Linked DNA regions of Homo sapiens: regions 1 and 3 are each linked to region 2. The links are contacts of gene promoters, found by promoter capture Hi-C in blood cells and fetal thymus (Javierre and others, 2016). All regions are on one chromosome and are shown on one strand. Each heading gives the region's core, a stretch centred on a gene start or on the middle of the fragment in contact. The rest is flanking DNA. Distances are from core to core; before and after follow the strand shown.

What was found. Contacts are between HindIII fragments. The CHiCAGO score rates a contact against its expected background, and 5 or more counts as called.
Region 1: a contact is called between a fragment that was not itself captured here and the fragment with the promoter of ELL2 in region 2, in 3 of 17 cell types (naive B cells, naive CD8 T cells and total B cells). The highest score is 6.2, in naive B cells.
Region 3: a fragment that was not itself captured here is called in contact with the fragment with the promoter of ELL2 in region 2 in 1 of 17 cell types (total B cells); the score reaches 5.6 in total B cells.

Annotation. Positions count from the first base shown.
Region 1 is chr5:98,779,990-98,784,803 of GRCh38, reverse strand. It overlaps RGMB (repulsive guidance molecule BMP co-receptor b), which reads right to left. Exons shown (of 3, transcript NM_001366508.1): 2 at 4,716-4,814. Among named protein-coding and RNA genes, the nearest start is that of RGMB, 8.7 kb to the right of the region's middle. RefSeq lists an enhancer at 4,491-4,814. The HindIII fragment of the contact is 187 bases long and covers 3,449-3,635 here.
Region 2 is chr5:95,958,409-95,963,224 of GRCh38, reverse strand. ELL2 (elongation factor for RNA polymerase II 2) reads left to right here and starts at 1,374. Exons shown (of 12, transcript NM_012081.6): 1 at 1,374-1,650. The coding sequence starts at 1,504. It overlaps LOC101929710 (a long non-coding RNA gene), which reads right to left and starts at 1,224. Exons shown (of 5, transcript NR_130776.1): 1 at 1,189-1,224. It also overlaps a transcript of CAST not described here. RefSeq lists silencers at 818-1,285, 1,241-1,480, 1,551-1,960 and an enhancer at 765-1,522. The HindIII fragment of the contact is 3,633 bases long and covers 128-3,760 here.
Region 3 is chr5:98,919,596-98,924,444 of GRCh38, reverse strand. The region is part of intron 2 of CHD1 (chromodomain helicase DNA binding protein 1); the gene reads left to right. Among named protein-coding and RNA genes, the nearest start is that of CHD1-DT, 6.5 kb to the left of the region's middle. The HindIII fragment of the contact is 855 bases long and covers 1,307-2,161 here.

The DNA of each region.
Region 1 (4,814 bases), core at 2,293-4,792, 2.8 Mb before region 2:
ATCCCTTAGTCCAGAAAAATAATGATAAACACTATGTAGCTCACATGGTTTCCATAAAGATGCTAAAAACATAATGGGTTGCAAAAACTTAGCTACAATAAATGTACTAGGTCTGGGGTCAACAGAGAACAGATTTCCAAACCTTATGCAGAGATATACTTAAAATGACAACTGAAAGCTGTTGCAATGCAGGCATGTCTGGTTCTGATTTTGTAACCAACAAAGAATGACCCAGAACACTGGTTTACATGCCCACATGCTGTTGTAGAACAATAACTCCCTGCTAAGGGGCACCAGAAAGCAGACCTACCTCATGCTCTAGGAGCCTACAAGGTAATGGTGTTTCTTACAATGGAAAACTGTAGGTTACAGAGTTTGAAGAAGACATTAACCAAAAGCAAACCAAACTAAGTCTTTCTACATCTCTAGTATCTTCAACCAGCGGAAATTTTCAAGAATTCCCAAGAAAGTAGCTACAGAATTTGAAATTCAGGGGTAAGTATGGAATTTAGACTATCCATAATGCATGATGGGTATGCTACTATGCTTTGGACAGGCGATGAGTGCTGCCCATAGGATTGCCAGGAGCTGGTGGCCGTTGGCAGCACCAAAAACGTACAAGATAGGCACCTCAGAGCATCTGTCCATCTGCCTAACAGTCATCTTGCTTGGTCAAGTACGATGAGCACAGCCCTTTCCCAAATTCAAACGCCTTAAGGTAAACTACCTTCTCTCACTCAAGGGTGAGGCACAGTAAAATGTGTAGCAGAAGATCTGCAGTAGGACCTGTTGTCATCCCCAGTCTCCACTCCTACTTTTTATTTTGTGTTACTGAGGTGGAAGGATAGAATAAGAAAGCAAGAGTGGTGAAAAAGGATACAACCACATTAAAACAAAAGGAAAAATAAAATGAAGGCATTCAAACTACTTGTACAAAAATAATTACTAAAAACATTTCCATTGTTTGTTTAGGTATGCAACTTAATAATAAATGAATTTCAGAATTGTTTTTGAAAAAGGAATACTTTTGAATTCCCTGGAGACTGGCAATTTTAATATATGCTATTGGGAATACATTTGCAAAGTGCAGAATCTTTCATAAAAAAATTTATTCCCCAATCACCTTCTGTGATCATGGCATATACAGATTCTTATTGAACCCACTTAAACAGAGATATAAAGATCCACAGAATGAATGAACAAGAGTTGAGACTGAGAGGTTGGCAAAAATAACATGGAAGAAGTCAAGCATCCTCAAAACAGATCATCTGGTTTATCTTGAGTGTGTGAGGCACAGGACAACTACTGACATGTGCCCTCTCTGGAGCCTGTGAAGGGTGGGCTACTTCCTCCTGCAAAACAAAACCTGCCTTTCTTCTCAGTGTAGCTAACTCTGCCAGTTCAGAGCCTGTCCCTCTCATCTCATTCTGAGTGCCTACATGCCTGTAGCCGCCTCTCACAGCCAAAGGTGGGGAAGATGGCCCAGAGCTGATGTGGATGTCAGCCGAGGTATGTGTGTGTGCCAGACACCCCTGCAGCCCCCGGGGTGGAGAGATGAAAAACCAGCCCTGGCTTCCCCTTCAGAAACACATCTACCTGGCAAGGTAGCCAACTGGCACAGGTTCCTCCAAAGAGAGGGAGGCAGGCACAGGGCAAAACTAAAAACACAGAGGCCTTGAGAAAGCATACCTGTGCACACCATGACCAACAGGAAAACAAACCCTACCTTTCCCAAGGAAGGGGAGGAGAGGGCCATGGTGGGGAAGAAAACAGTAGACCAGGGGAGATGAGGCAACATCATTAAGCACCGCAGGCATGTCTGCCTTGAACTCACTGCTTGCCATGTAGAGAAAAAGAAAAGGCTTAGCTAATATATGGCCCCGGGTGACTTCATTTCATTCTATGGTGTTTAGATTTTTCCCCCACTTTGTCTTTTTGTGATAAGGAAAAGGGGGGTACCTAGGAACAGGCAGAGCTCACAAAGTTGGGCTTGAAGACGGCTTGCTCAAGAGGCCAGGTTCCCAGGACTGAGAAGCTGTCTTAGTAGCCTCATTGAGCAAAATACCCTGGGGTCTAGTGCTTCAGTGCAGTGTTAAAGGGAGCGAAATGAATGGATGTTTCCGAAAATTTCAGTATCACAGCTGGCCAGCTAGCCAATGACATCAGTCTTTCAATCTAGTGGCACTGAGCACGTGGGTTATTAAAAACACTTGACCACACAAGGATGATCTGGTATCTACAAGGCACAGTACTAGGTTACCCAACAACTGGTCTATGCACTTGCTTAAATTCTCAGTAAAGCTGGGATTTCCATGAAAAAATTTTTCAAAAGATTTTTTAAAGAAAGTATGGTGGTAGACATTAAGGGAAAATTTCAGATCTTGTTTAGAACTTATTTTATAAGCACTTTTATGCCTCTTATTGTTTTTATTTTTATCACCACCACTTTTTTGTGCTGAAGGTTTTTAAAGGTTTTATTTTGGTCCTGGCTGGGTAAAAGGAACGTATTGTAAGATTTAGGCCTTTCTTTGGTTTCACCAGCACACGTCATACTAGTATTGAGACAGGTCTTCAAGAGCAACCTTCCAGATGCTTATGGGGCTTTGGAGAGAGTTACAAAGAGAAGGGGGATGGGGAACCAAACCCAACAACTCCTAGAGGTTGTGAAGTGAGGCTACAGAATAGTTTGCTGCTGAACAGCATGGTCACCAGATGTGGGAAAATACCTTCCAATAGTGCAATTAAAGACCAAGCATTCTCATCATCTACTTGAATTTATGTCAGAGGACCACTTTCTCCAACTTTTTTTGAATGGGTAAAACCTTTGATCCTTATTCCAAACTGAGGGAGAAAACAAGATTGTCCTTTTTATTTATTTGCTAAAAATTACAACAGAATTCAACTGAAATAAAATGATCTTAAATACTTCAGTGTAAACTGTTCCATATATATAGCAATATTCATAAGGTTATCCCCCACATATTTTCACCATAATCAGTAACAATAGAATTCTGAAAGACTGAATAACAGAAGTGACATGACCGGATGGAAGGCATGAAGAATAAAATTTGAATACTGCTTCTTGTGAAGAGAATGAGTATTTCCCCATTTACAAGCTCTGATTAATCTCTATAGTTTTGTTCGAAGGTCACTCTGCCAAGTCCTCAATTATTTGCACAATTGATGACTTTTTCCATTCTCAATGGACTGCCTTCTTTCAGTTACCCAAAGACTATTCCCAGCTTTCATGTGCCATATGACTCTGCAGTAATGATGGATTTGGGGCCATCGTTTCTCTTATAACTTCATAATTCTATAACTTTATATATAATTTATAGCAAATACATATTCTGAGATATTTATAAAAAAATGATTTGAGTACATACAAAAACCAGAGGGAGAAAAGTTTATTTTGAGATATGGAATTTGGTAAGGCAAAAGACAAGCTTGAGCTTTTACTGAGAGTTGAAGTATAAACATTTTGGAGTTCCCCTAAGATGTCTAGACCAGTGTAACAGTCGTCTTTGATTAGGGCAATGACTTCTAGTCTTAAATTTGTGACACCCCAGGGTGTCTGCAGATATCTCCCGAGGTGTTGTAAAATTCCCTCCACAAAATGCCAAGTAAAATAAGCTTTAATTTATTTAAAAAGTATACCACACATGTTTAGACACAGGGGAGGGTGTCCTGGAATCAAGAGAACAGTCGTAAGTATTTCAAAAGCTTGAGTCTTGTCAATTACATTAAAAAACTAAACCAATTTTTTTGGATACAATAAATGCAAGAAATAAAGTAAGATGAGATGGTCTATGTGTGTGGTTTTGTGGTTGGAAAAGACACGGAAGGAGGTGGTTAGTCGGGACACTATTTTAGTGGAAAAGTGACTTTACTTACTAATGGCTGAATTAGCACTGACTGCCAATTAGAAACCTAGTTCATAGGTCCTCTCTACCTGCTTGCACTAAACACTGGTGCCTTGAAGTTGGTGTCAAAGATCTCTGTACAGTATTAGTTTCTTTAAAACAAACGAACACAGACCACATAAACTGGCAGCTAGTCATGGTAAGCTAAATTTTGTCAGTGTTTCTCTTAGCTTCTGACTGAAACTGTTAACCTGAGGCCCTGAGATTACACACAGGTTACATATTGCTGCTCTGCAATATCCAATTATTAACCTCCTCGGTCATCAAGAGGTTAGTAACTAAACCACCACTGTGGGTTTACCACTGGGAAGTTGGCTTATTGCCATTATGTTTTACTATAGCTTCCAAATCTCCAATAAAATATGTTTCCTGATACGTCACTGCCTCAGGCCTCACAGCTTTCTTTATTCAGAACACCCACTTCAATCATCTGATAAATCTGAACATGGATTTCTTCAAGAGTCACACACATATGCACTCAAAAAAAGACATCACTGAAAAAAGCATCCTTTTTTTACTAAACAGGTCTGCCTTTTCCCTGGAGAACTCAATTTCACTGTTTACTTTTTATTCTTTATATCACTGTCTATTTAAAATTAGAACCACGTTTACATTCCAATAAGAAATTCCTTACTAGATAATTTTTATTTAACCCTTTATCAACTGTTAATTGCTTTTCAAAAGAAGTTCCTTTTAAACTAGGCCCTTTATAGCACATTTCAAAAGTTATCTGAAGAATCAAACATCTTTTGAAAGTTGAGTAGGGAGAGGGAAAAAAGAAGGTATACTTGCCTTATTTGTAGCAGTAGCACTGGATCCAGGGACCACAGGTACGTTTGTCACTTGAACTGAAAGATAATTATTATCTATGAGTGGCCAGGCCCCTTCTAC
Region 2 (4,816 bases), core at 125-2,624:
TCTATAAACTTTCCCGGGGAATCCCAGTAGAACAGAACATGGTTTTATAAGCTGAGGGTAAAAACAAGCGTCTCAGTTTTTTTATTAAAAGAACTTTTTTAAACTGCCTTTCAACAGTTTGAAAGCTTTCAATGGTTTGTTTTATCTGGTGTTTCTGATCAACCAATTAATCCATCCTCTGACAGGAACCCATCTGTCAGTCTATCCACACACAATCTGAAAGGGACTCCAGATTAGGCTCCCTCTTTTAGCCACGCCTACACAGGAAGCATCCTGTGGATGGAATGGAAAGTATGCCAGGCCTTTGCACGCCCCTCACGCCCCCATCTCCTTCGCTTAACCTCGACAGCCTCTTACCTTTAAACCCTAGCTAGGTTTTCACACAGCCCTATCAAATAAAAAGGACAATACTCAAACTGAATTAGAGAATGAGAATTGTCGAGGTTTCTTTTAATTTAGATCAATGCCAGTTTTACTCTTCTTCTAGAGTCCTTTTTAAGGAGATATCATCCCCACCAGTTGTGATCCCAGAGAATCACAACAGGGCATGGCGTAGGAAAGACCTCGAAGCTCAATTCTCTATTATACCATGCCCACCATACGAAAGGCATTTAACCTCCCGCGTGATTTTGTCCTTAAGATGCTCCACAAGATCTAACACAACTCCTACATCTAAGAGTCGACTCACTAATTTCAAGGGTTTTTGTTTTTGTTTTTGTTTTTATAAGCTCTGCGTGTGGCACCCGATAACTTCAAGTTTAGAGTGAGCAGTTTCCTCCCAATGCCGTTTGCTCAACTACAGTACTAGGAGTTTTGAGGAGCAGCTCTCTAGCGAGTCCTCCTGCTGCGTCCTCCCCCACACGCACGCACCAAGTTCCACAGCTTCCGCAGCCGTCGGGGAACAAAGTCCTTATTTGGTCACGGCCATCCCCTTACATAGTGGAGGTGGAGATCCTCCTCTCCAAGGACCACCCGCGTAGGGCGAGATTCCCCAATTCTGACTTTTCACTACTATCCCCCACAGGGGCGGGGCTCCAACTCCAGGTAACCAGACCAGGCAACCTGGACTTCCAATTAGCAGGGGAGTCCCCAAGCCAGCCTGGCCAATCTCGGCCGGCTAGCCAAGACGACCAGACGTGACGTCAGACATGATTAAGTTGGCGCGTCACCTAGACGTCAGCCTCTTACCTCTCGGACGTCCCGTCCCAGGAGCAAAACTCTAGTGACTTTGGGCCCGCCCCCGTGAGAGTGGAGGGCGGCCGATGAGGGCGGTTCTGAAGGGAACAAGACCAATGAGACGAGCCCGGGGCGGGGCGCGGGGCCGGAGGGTGGGGCGGGTGGCGGCGGTGGCAGTCCGAGGTCTGGCTCCGCGCAGTATATGACAGTACGTCAGCAGCGGGATGGCCCTAGCAGTGGCGGCGGCTGCAGAAGCCCAAGCAGCCGCGGCCGCAGTGGAGGCTAGAGCCGGAGCGGCGGCGGCGGCGGCACCCCGGGGAGTTTAAGATGGCGGCGGGGGGGACAGGGGGCCTGCGGGAGGAGCAGCGCTATGGGCTGTCGTGCGGACGGCTGGGGCAGGACAACATCACCGTACTGCATGTGAAGCTCACCGAGACGGCGATCCGGGCGCTCGAGACTTACCAGAGCCACAAGGTGAGCGGGCCGGCCGGCAGGCTGGGCTCAGAGAGGCAGAGCGCACCCCTCACGGCCTGGCCGCGCCCGGGTGCGGGGCCGGCGGAGCCGTGGCTGGCAGCTGCTACCGTCAGCGCCCGCAGCGGCCAGGCAGGGCAGGGCCGGGCAGGGTGGCTGACGCCGCGGTCCCGGGCTAGCCTGGGCGTTGGGGAAGCGGGCAGTCGGGCGGCCCCTGGCGGCGGGGCCGAGGCAGCCGCAGCCCTGGGTCGGCTGCGCTGCCGCTGCGGGACTTTCCGACGGCCCCCGAGGATTTCCTGGCTTGTTGGGTCCCAAGGAGGGAGAGAGGCCCCGATAAGAGAAGTGAGATGACCACGCTACCCTCGGCGGGGAAGGAGGGTAGCGAGCAGCGTATGGGCAAGGAACCAGGGACGACTCGCGGGCACCAGCTGCCCGCGTTTTCCAGTTACATAGGCACGGTGGATCCTCAGAGACAGGACACAGGCGCTCCGCGTGTGGGGGTGGGACCTTGTATTCCCAGGGACTTGGGGACACAGGCGCTCCACGTATCAGGGGACACACTGTGTGCTCGAAGGGATGGGGACTCGGGCGCATGGTGAGGGGCACACGGTGTACTCATAGAGATAGGGACTTAGGCAGTCCGTGTAAGGGGGCGGCGCACACTGGAACGGCGGGGACACTGGCGCTTCGCGTACGGGGGGGGAGGGGACACACCTGCATTCCCAGGGACTCCGGGACACCGGCGCATCGCGTTACTGGAGACGCGCCGCGTCCAGGACGGACACAAACCAACACAGTGCCCTGGGGAGAGACCTGAGGACTCACGCACACTTAGCGCTCCCCGGGAGCAAGACATCGGGTTCTGGAGAGAGAGGTTCACGGACGCTCAACGTACCCGAAAAAGCTCCCGGCGTCTTGGGCTGACTCTGGGAAGTGTAAACGGGGAACGAGCCAGAGCCAGAAGGTGTGGGGAGGATACAATGCATCCCGGGCAGAGACTCGGGCCTCTCACCCCTCGTTTTCGAGAGAAGCCCATGGACACACACACACACATATACACACACACCCCTCCAGTACAGAGAGAGGCTCAGATAGGCGCACATACACTGTAATTGGACTACAAATCCAGACGCTTTCATGTTGGAAAAAAAATGGGAGAGACAGGGAAGCACCGAGAAGGGACGCGGTAACCAGGGTGCATGGGGAAACAGTTTATGGACATGCAGTACTGTGGGAGACCGGAGTGGATACATCGCGTGAGGGAGGGATATGCCATATGGGGGAACCTGTAACGTTTTACAGGAGAGGAGAGAGTCGGAAGGGAGATAGAACCCACGGGGCATCTTACAAATAGCCCGTTCGGTACTGAGGAACACACTCCAACCGGTCTCGTACAACAGACAGAGGGGCAGAAGGACACCGAGACACAGATTCACATAGTTATTCAGCTAAAAGTGGGGAAAAGAATTGACATCTGTTGAGCTCCCACTAGTGCCAGGCACTTTAAATACATAGAGCGAAGGCAGAGTCTGAGGCAGAGCGGCAGGAGAGGTGTGAACCCTGGTTTACTGGGAGTGTATTCAGAGAGCCCCCCCACCCCATAAGTGTGCACACAGAGGAAGGCATTAGTTGTGCACGCTTTGGATAGAAAATGAACTCACATGATAGGGTATTTGTAAACAGCAGTGGAGGCTCAGAGGTGAGTGTATTGTTAGGAAGGTACTCACAGAATTGGGTGGACACATGAATGTACGTGCTAGGACACTTGTGTTACTAACCAGAGAAGCATATGGTGAAAAGGACTCACAGACTTTGTGTGGTGGGGTGAGGGGGCGTCAGGGAGGAGTGCATGCACAGGGAGAAAGGTACCGTCCTACATACAGTGAAATCTCGAGAGAAAATCTCAAGAATGGCTGGGAGAGATACAAGAAATAGAAAACTGCATGTGCCAATAGCTACTCTTAGATAGGTGCACCTGCAGTGAAGAGACCAGCATCAGACGGAGTGGGAGGCCCATATGGGGGAAGCCAGAAACACAGGCAGAGGGACAGAAGCAGACAGTGGAGAGAAACTCTGGAGAGAAACTCAGCCTTGCAAGATGGAAAGATAAGCTTGCCTGTTCCAAGGGAAGGGCGTGGGAAGGAATGGCAGTGGGAAGAAGGTAGGTCTGGGGATGTGAAGAGAAAACCCAGAGGCCCAGAGAAAAAGAAGTCAGCAGGAGGCGGCCAGCCCCTATTCAGGAGCAGACCCGAGGAGCAGAGAAAGACTTGACACACAGTGGGTGGGAAGAGGCATCTCTGGGGGCAGTAGGTCAGCCAGCTACCTTGGGAAAACAACAGGCAACTGTACAGTTGATTACAGCAAGATTGACAGTGTACACTTGTGGGGAAAGTGGGCAGATGAGGAGGTCCACTTGGGGAAGGGAAAGCGAAGTGACAGTAATTGGTCATGATCTGCATGACCACTGGAGGCCCCAGAAGGGAGTGCTTTGTTTTCCTACCTTTGTATGGCCTTCATTTCTGCTTCCTATACCCTAGTGTTTTCATATTTGGGATTAAGTTTACAGTGCTCTAAAAGCCCCTGCATTTATATACCAGTAGCTTCCAGGAGACAGAAGATCAAAAATTCTTTCTCTGCCAACCCACCACTTAGTTCTTAATTTAAAAAAAAAAAATTACTTTTTAAGAGGTACCAAAGTCGTCAATGTCTTTGTTTGCTTCTGACTGCTTCTAGTACTTTTTCCATTTCTGTACATGCCCATTTATGGGTCTGGTTGGTCTCTACAGAGGCAGCAAAGGGAAAGGAGGAAGACTTTTTCCCAGATCTCTCTACCTTAAAGCATGGAGCCAAGTAGCTTGTATTAGTCCTAGGATTCCTTTTCTCCTGCAAAACTGGTGGTAGAAACAGTGGCATGCGGGGGATGGTACATAAGCTGACCATCCTTAACCAGCTCCTATCAGGACTCACTGTCAGCTCAGCCATGGAAACACTTTTTAAGGGGTGTGGACAAGCAAGCAGGAATTGGAGTGAAACTGTCAACCTCAGTTGGATGAAAACTGGGAAGAAACCAAAAAAATGAGATAGATACCTTTCTGGTGACTGAATGTACCGTTGGTACTTACTGCAGGCTCCACCCACCTGTGTGTCCTCAGTGCCCCTCCTCCTGACT
Region 3 (4,849 bases), core at 485-2,984, 3.0 Mb before region 2:
AATTACAAAGTGCATCGTAAAGTTTCAAACAGTAAAGTTTTACTAGAATCACCAGAGTTGAGGTTTAATTAAAAGACTTTTGAATCTGAGCTTTGATTCAAATCTCTATAGGTATGTTGACTACTGACTATAGTTAAGTAAATAGAAGAGTCATATTGTCCACCCACAATTTTTTTTTTCTTTTCTTTTCTTTTGAGACAGGGCCTCACTCTGTCACCCAGGCTGGAGTACAGTTGTGTAGTCTCAGCTCACTGCAGCCTCTGCCTCCACCTCCTGGGCTCAAACGATTCTCCCACCTCAGCATCCTGAAAGGCGTGCATGCCACCACACTCAGCTAATTTTAAAATTTTTTGTAGAGATGAGGTCTCACCATATTGCCTCAGCTGGTCTTGAACTCATGGGCTCAAGCAGTCCTCCCACCTTGGCCTCCCAAAGTGTTGGGATTACAGGTGTGAGCTGCCACACCCGGCCTCACATTTTCTTATTCATAGTTGGAATGGAATGGTTAGTAGGTAGAAATACCTAGAGGAAACAAAGGAACCAAACTATTCATAAAATAGGAGATAAGACTCGAGAGTAAATCTTCTAGTTGGATATGCAGACAGATCATGTGCTGGTATATTCTGACTACTTACCTGTTCCAATATTTTATATATTTTTCTGCCATATCTAAAGCGAGGAGGAGTAATAAGTCCAATTTGATACTACAGGTGAAAAAAAATTAAACCTTGTGGCCGGGTGCGGTGGCTTACGCCTGTAATCCCAGCACTTTGGGAGGCCGAGCAGGCAGATCACCTGAGGTTGGGAGTTCGAGACCACCTTGACCAACATGGAGAAATCCTGTCTCTACCAAAAATACAAAATGAGCTGGGTGTGGTGGCCTGTAATCCCAGCTGCTCGCGAGGCTGAGGCAGGAGAATTGCTTGAACCCAGGAGGCAGACGGAGGTTGCAGTGAGCCGGAGATTGCGCGATTGCACTCCAGCCTGGGAAACAAGTGAAACTCCGTCTCAAAAAAAAAAAAAAAATTAAACCTTGCGAAATCAAATTTAAGGAATCTTTTACAATGCATACTCATCTTAAATAATTGCAAAGCATATTTCTTTAATTATTCGGAGTTGTTAATTCTGCTATACAGGTTTTGTGTGCTTCTGAAAAGTGTGGTTATCAAGTTATCTAGTTTTTACAACTGCCTTGGAGTTTATCAGGAGAGAGACCTTCTTTTTTGCCTTCATTTTCTTTCTTACCGCTGCTATACTATGCTCTACTGTCATTAACACTCAATTCCCACTCCCTTCCCCAGAAGCTTTTGTCATAAGACATTACAAAGAAGGGAGATTGTGCCTAGTTAAAAGACTGAGGAGGTGAACTTTAGAGGTAGAGGGATTTTCTTGCAAAAAAAACTAAAGTTTCTATAACTATGAATATTAATATAGAGTAATTTTTTTTCTTTTTTTTGAGCCAGAGTCTTGCTCTGTCGCCCAGGCTGCAGTGCAGCGGTATGACCTCGGCTCACTGCATCCTCCGCCTACCGAGTTCAAGCAATTTTCCTGCCTCAGCCTCCCGAGTAGCTGGGACTACAGGCATGCACCACTGCATCCAGCTAATTTTTGTATTTTTAGCAGAGACGGTGTTTCGTCATGTTGGCCAGGCTGGTCTCGAACTCCTGACCTCAGGTGATCTGCCCGCCTTGGCCTCCCAAAGCACTGGGGATTACAGGCATGAGCCACCGTGCCTGGCCCCTAATATAATTAGATTAGAAATATACTTTGTTTCTAAAGTTGATATTCATTGTAAGTAGCTTTTTAAAGTAAATTTTGGTTTTTTAGTGGCTAGAATTCTATAATGTATTTTTGCTTCAAAATTTCCTTTTTCTTTTGTGAAAGTTTATTAAACGGAATAGAATTAAGAAAGAATTCATTTGGCATTTGCAGGTTACAGTTAGCTTTCTACTGAAAAAAAAAATTTTTAACTATTCTTTCTGTCTGGAGATCTCTCTATAACTATTCACTGAAAGGAAGAAGAATACACAGGAAAAATATGTCTCTTTTGCTATGCTATTGCTGACAGTCTTGAAATTTAGTTACTAAGAAATGTGGGCCAGGATGCACCTGTATAACAGTTACAGCTCAACACAAAGTTTTATGTAACTGAAGTTAAGCTTTTTAAAGATAATGCTGGAAGATTTCAAAGCATCAATTTGCAGCTGTGTGGATTTGTGGTGGTATTTGCAAGCAAATTTTTCAAATCCTGGTAGACTTTTTTTTAGTGTGTGTGTGGTTTGTTTTTTTTTAATTGAGATGGAGTCTCACTGTTGCCCAGGCTGGAGTGCAGTAGCACGATCTTGGCTCACTGCAGCCTCCGTCTCCTGTGTTCTGGCAGTTTTCTGCCTCTGCCTCCTGAGTAGCTGGGATTATAGGTGCCCGCCACCATGCCCCGCTAATTTTTGTATTTTTAGTAAAGATGGGATTTCACCATGTTGGCCAGGCTGGTGGTCTTGAACTCCTGACCTTGTGATCCACCCACCTCGGCCTCCCAAAGTGCTGGGATTACAGGCATGAGCCACTGCGCCTGGCTGACTTTTTTTAGTTTTAAATAAGTTATCTTGAGTGATGATTTACTTCAGGAATGGCTATATGGTTAAAGATCAGAATGGTGTATGAGTTACCTTTCAAAGATTACTTTTCTGTATGTAGTCATAATGTGTGGGCAAACATTAATGTGATGTTACCCCTTTTACTCTGCTTAAGTAGCTGCTTGTTTAAGATCTTGATGACTGATTGGTTATATATGGTGCAGTTTTGTGTTTTAAAATGAGTATTACTTTATGATGAATGGAGAAAATGTTTAACCTTTTTTTAAAATGGGAAATATTTAAAACTACAGAAATAGAAAAGTTGCACCAGTTGTGGTCCGTGGACCAGCGGTGTTGGCATCATTTGGGAGCTTATTATAACTGTAGAACCTTGTGCCTCGCCCCAGACGTACTGAATCAGAATCTTCATTTTAACAAGATTCTAAGTGATTCTTATGTATTAAGTTCATATACATTTATATGAAGCTATTCATCTGGAGTCATAGCATCTTGCCACTTTGTTATTGATGTTGTTATACATGGTTTTCATTCTCTGCGAACCTCCAATTAATTGTGTCTTGAGCAGGACTAGCAAGAGGCTAGGTAAGTTTCGTTTCTCCGGAAGCAGTAACAATGGCAACTGATGATTGTTGAGCTCTTGCTGTGCCTTAACCTAGCATGATGCACATAGGGCATTGTGCATTACTTGAATTGTCACAGTTCATCCTCACAAAACTTCTGTGATGTATACATTGTTATGATTCCCACTTTCCAGATGGGGAAACAAGATTTATAGCCATTTTATTTATTTTTTTATTCTTTTTTAAAAAACTATTACCTAAACTCTATACTTGGATTTCATTGATTTTTCCATTAACTCCCTCTTTTCTGTTGTAGGATTAAATCCAGAGTGCCACATTGCATTTAGTTGTCACGTCTCCCCAGTCTCCTTTCATCTGTGAGAGTTTCTAAGTCTTTCCTTAGTTTTCATGGTCTAAACCATCTTGAGAAATACTGGCCAGGTATCCTGTAGAATGTTTTTGAAATCTAGATTTGTCTTTTTTTTTTTTTTTTTGAGACGGCGTCTTGCTCTGTTGCCCAGGCTGGAGTGCAATGGCACGATCTCACCTCACTGCAACCTCCGCCTCCTGGGTTCAAACGATTCTCCTGCCACAGCCTCCCGAGTGACTGGGACTACAGGTGTGCACCACCATGCCTGGCTAATTTTTGTATTTTTAGTAGAGACAGGGTTTCTCTGTGTTGGTCAGGCTGATCTTGAACTCTTGACCTCAGGTAATCCACCCACCTTGGCCTCCCAGAGTGTTGGGATTACAGGTGTGTGAGCCACCACACCTGGCCTTGTCTATTGTTCTTAGGATAAACTAGGGTTATTGGTTTTTAGAAAGAATACCACAAAGATAAAGTGTGCTAGTCACATCATATGGGAAACATGTTATCCTCATGACATTACTGGTGGTGTTAACCTCTCACTTGGTCAAGGTAGTATTTGCAAGTTTCTCTACTGTAAAGTTACTGTTTTTCCCTTTCCATAATATATTCTTTGGAAGCAAGTCATTTTGTCTAGCCTACTTTCAAGAGGGTTGGGATAGGAATTAAATTCCATCTCCTGGTGGGGGGAGTATTTACATATATTAAATGGAATTTCTGTAAGGAAATTTCTAAATCGTTTATATATGTATGGATTTATGTATGTGCTTTGAGTTGTAATCCAGCTTAGTGGATTACAACTCTATAAAATATATATTTGTATATATTTATGTATAATAGGTATTTTATGTATCTATTGTATAATAGTTGACTTTTTTGTTACTTAAATTGATCTAGCCTTGGCTCTTGGAAGCTTTTTTAGGTTGGCTCGTATGTTTCTTTTACACACTGCCTTACTTTTACCCTAGAATCAGCCACTCTCCAAGGAGCCTTGGTTCCATTTTTTTGGAGAATGGCATTAGAAACCAAGATTTGGGTACTGGGTGTGCTTGTTGATATTCAAGTGTCACTGCTTTTATTTCCTCTCAGTGAACAAAGTAGACAGAGCTAGGTAATATATGTAGATATATTATGTATACCTACGTATCTATAGTCATTTCTGTATCCTTACGTCTGTATACATATTATCTCATACATAAACGTGAGTTCATACCGATGGCTCCAACTCTAATCCTGTGCTATAGGGTTCATTCTAACCTTTCTTTCTTATTGCTTTGTAACTTCCTTACTCAACATTGAGAAACCTGGCTCTGACCATCCACCATTTA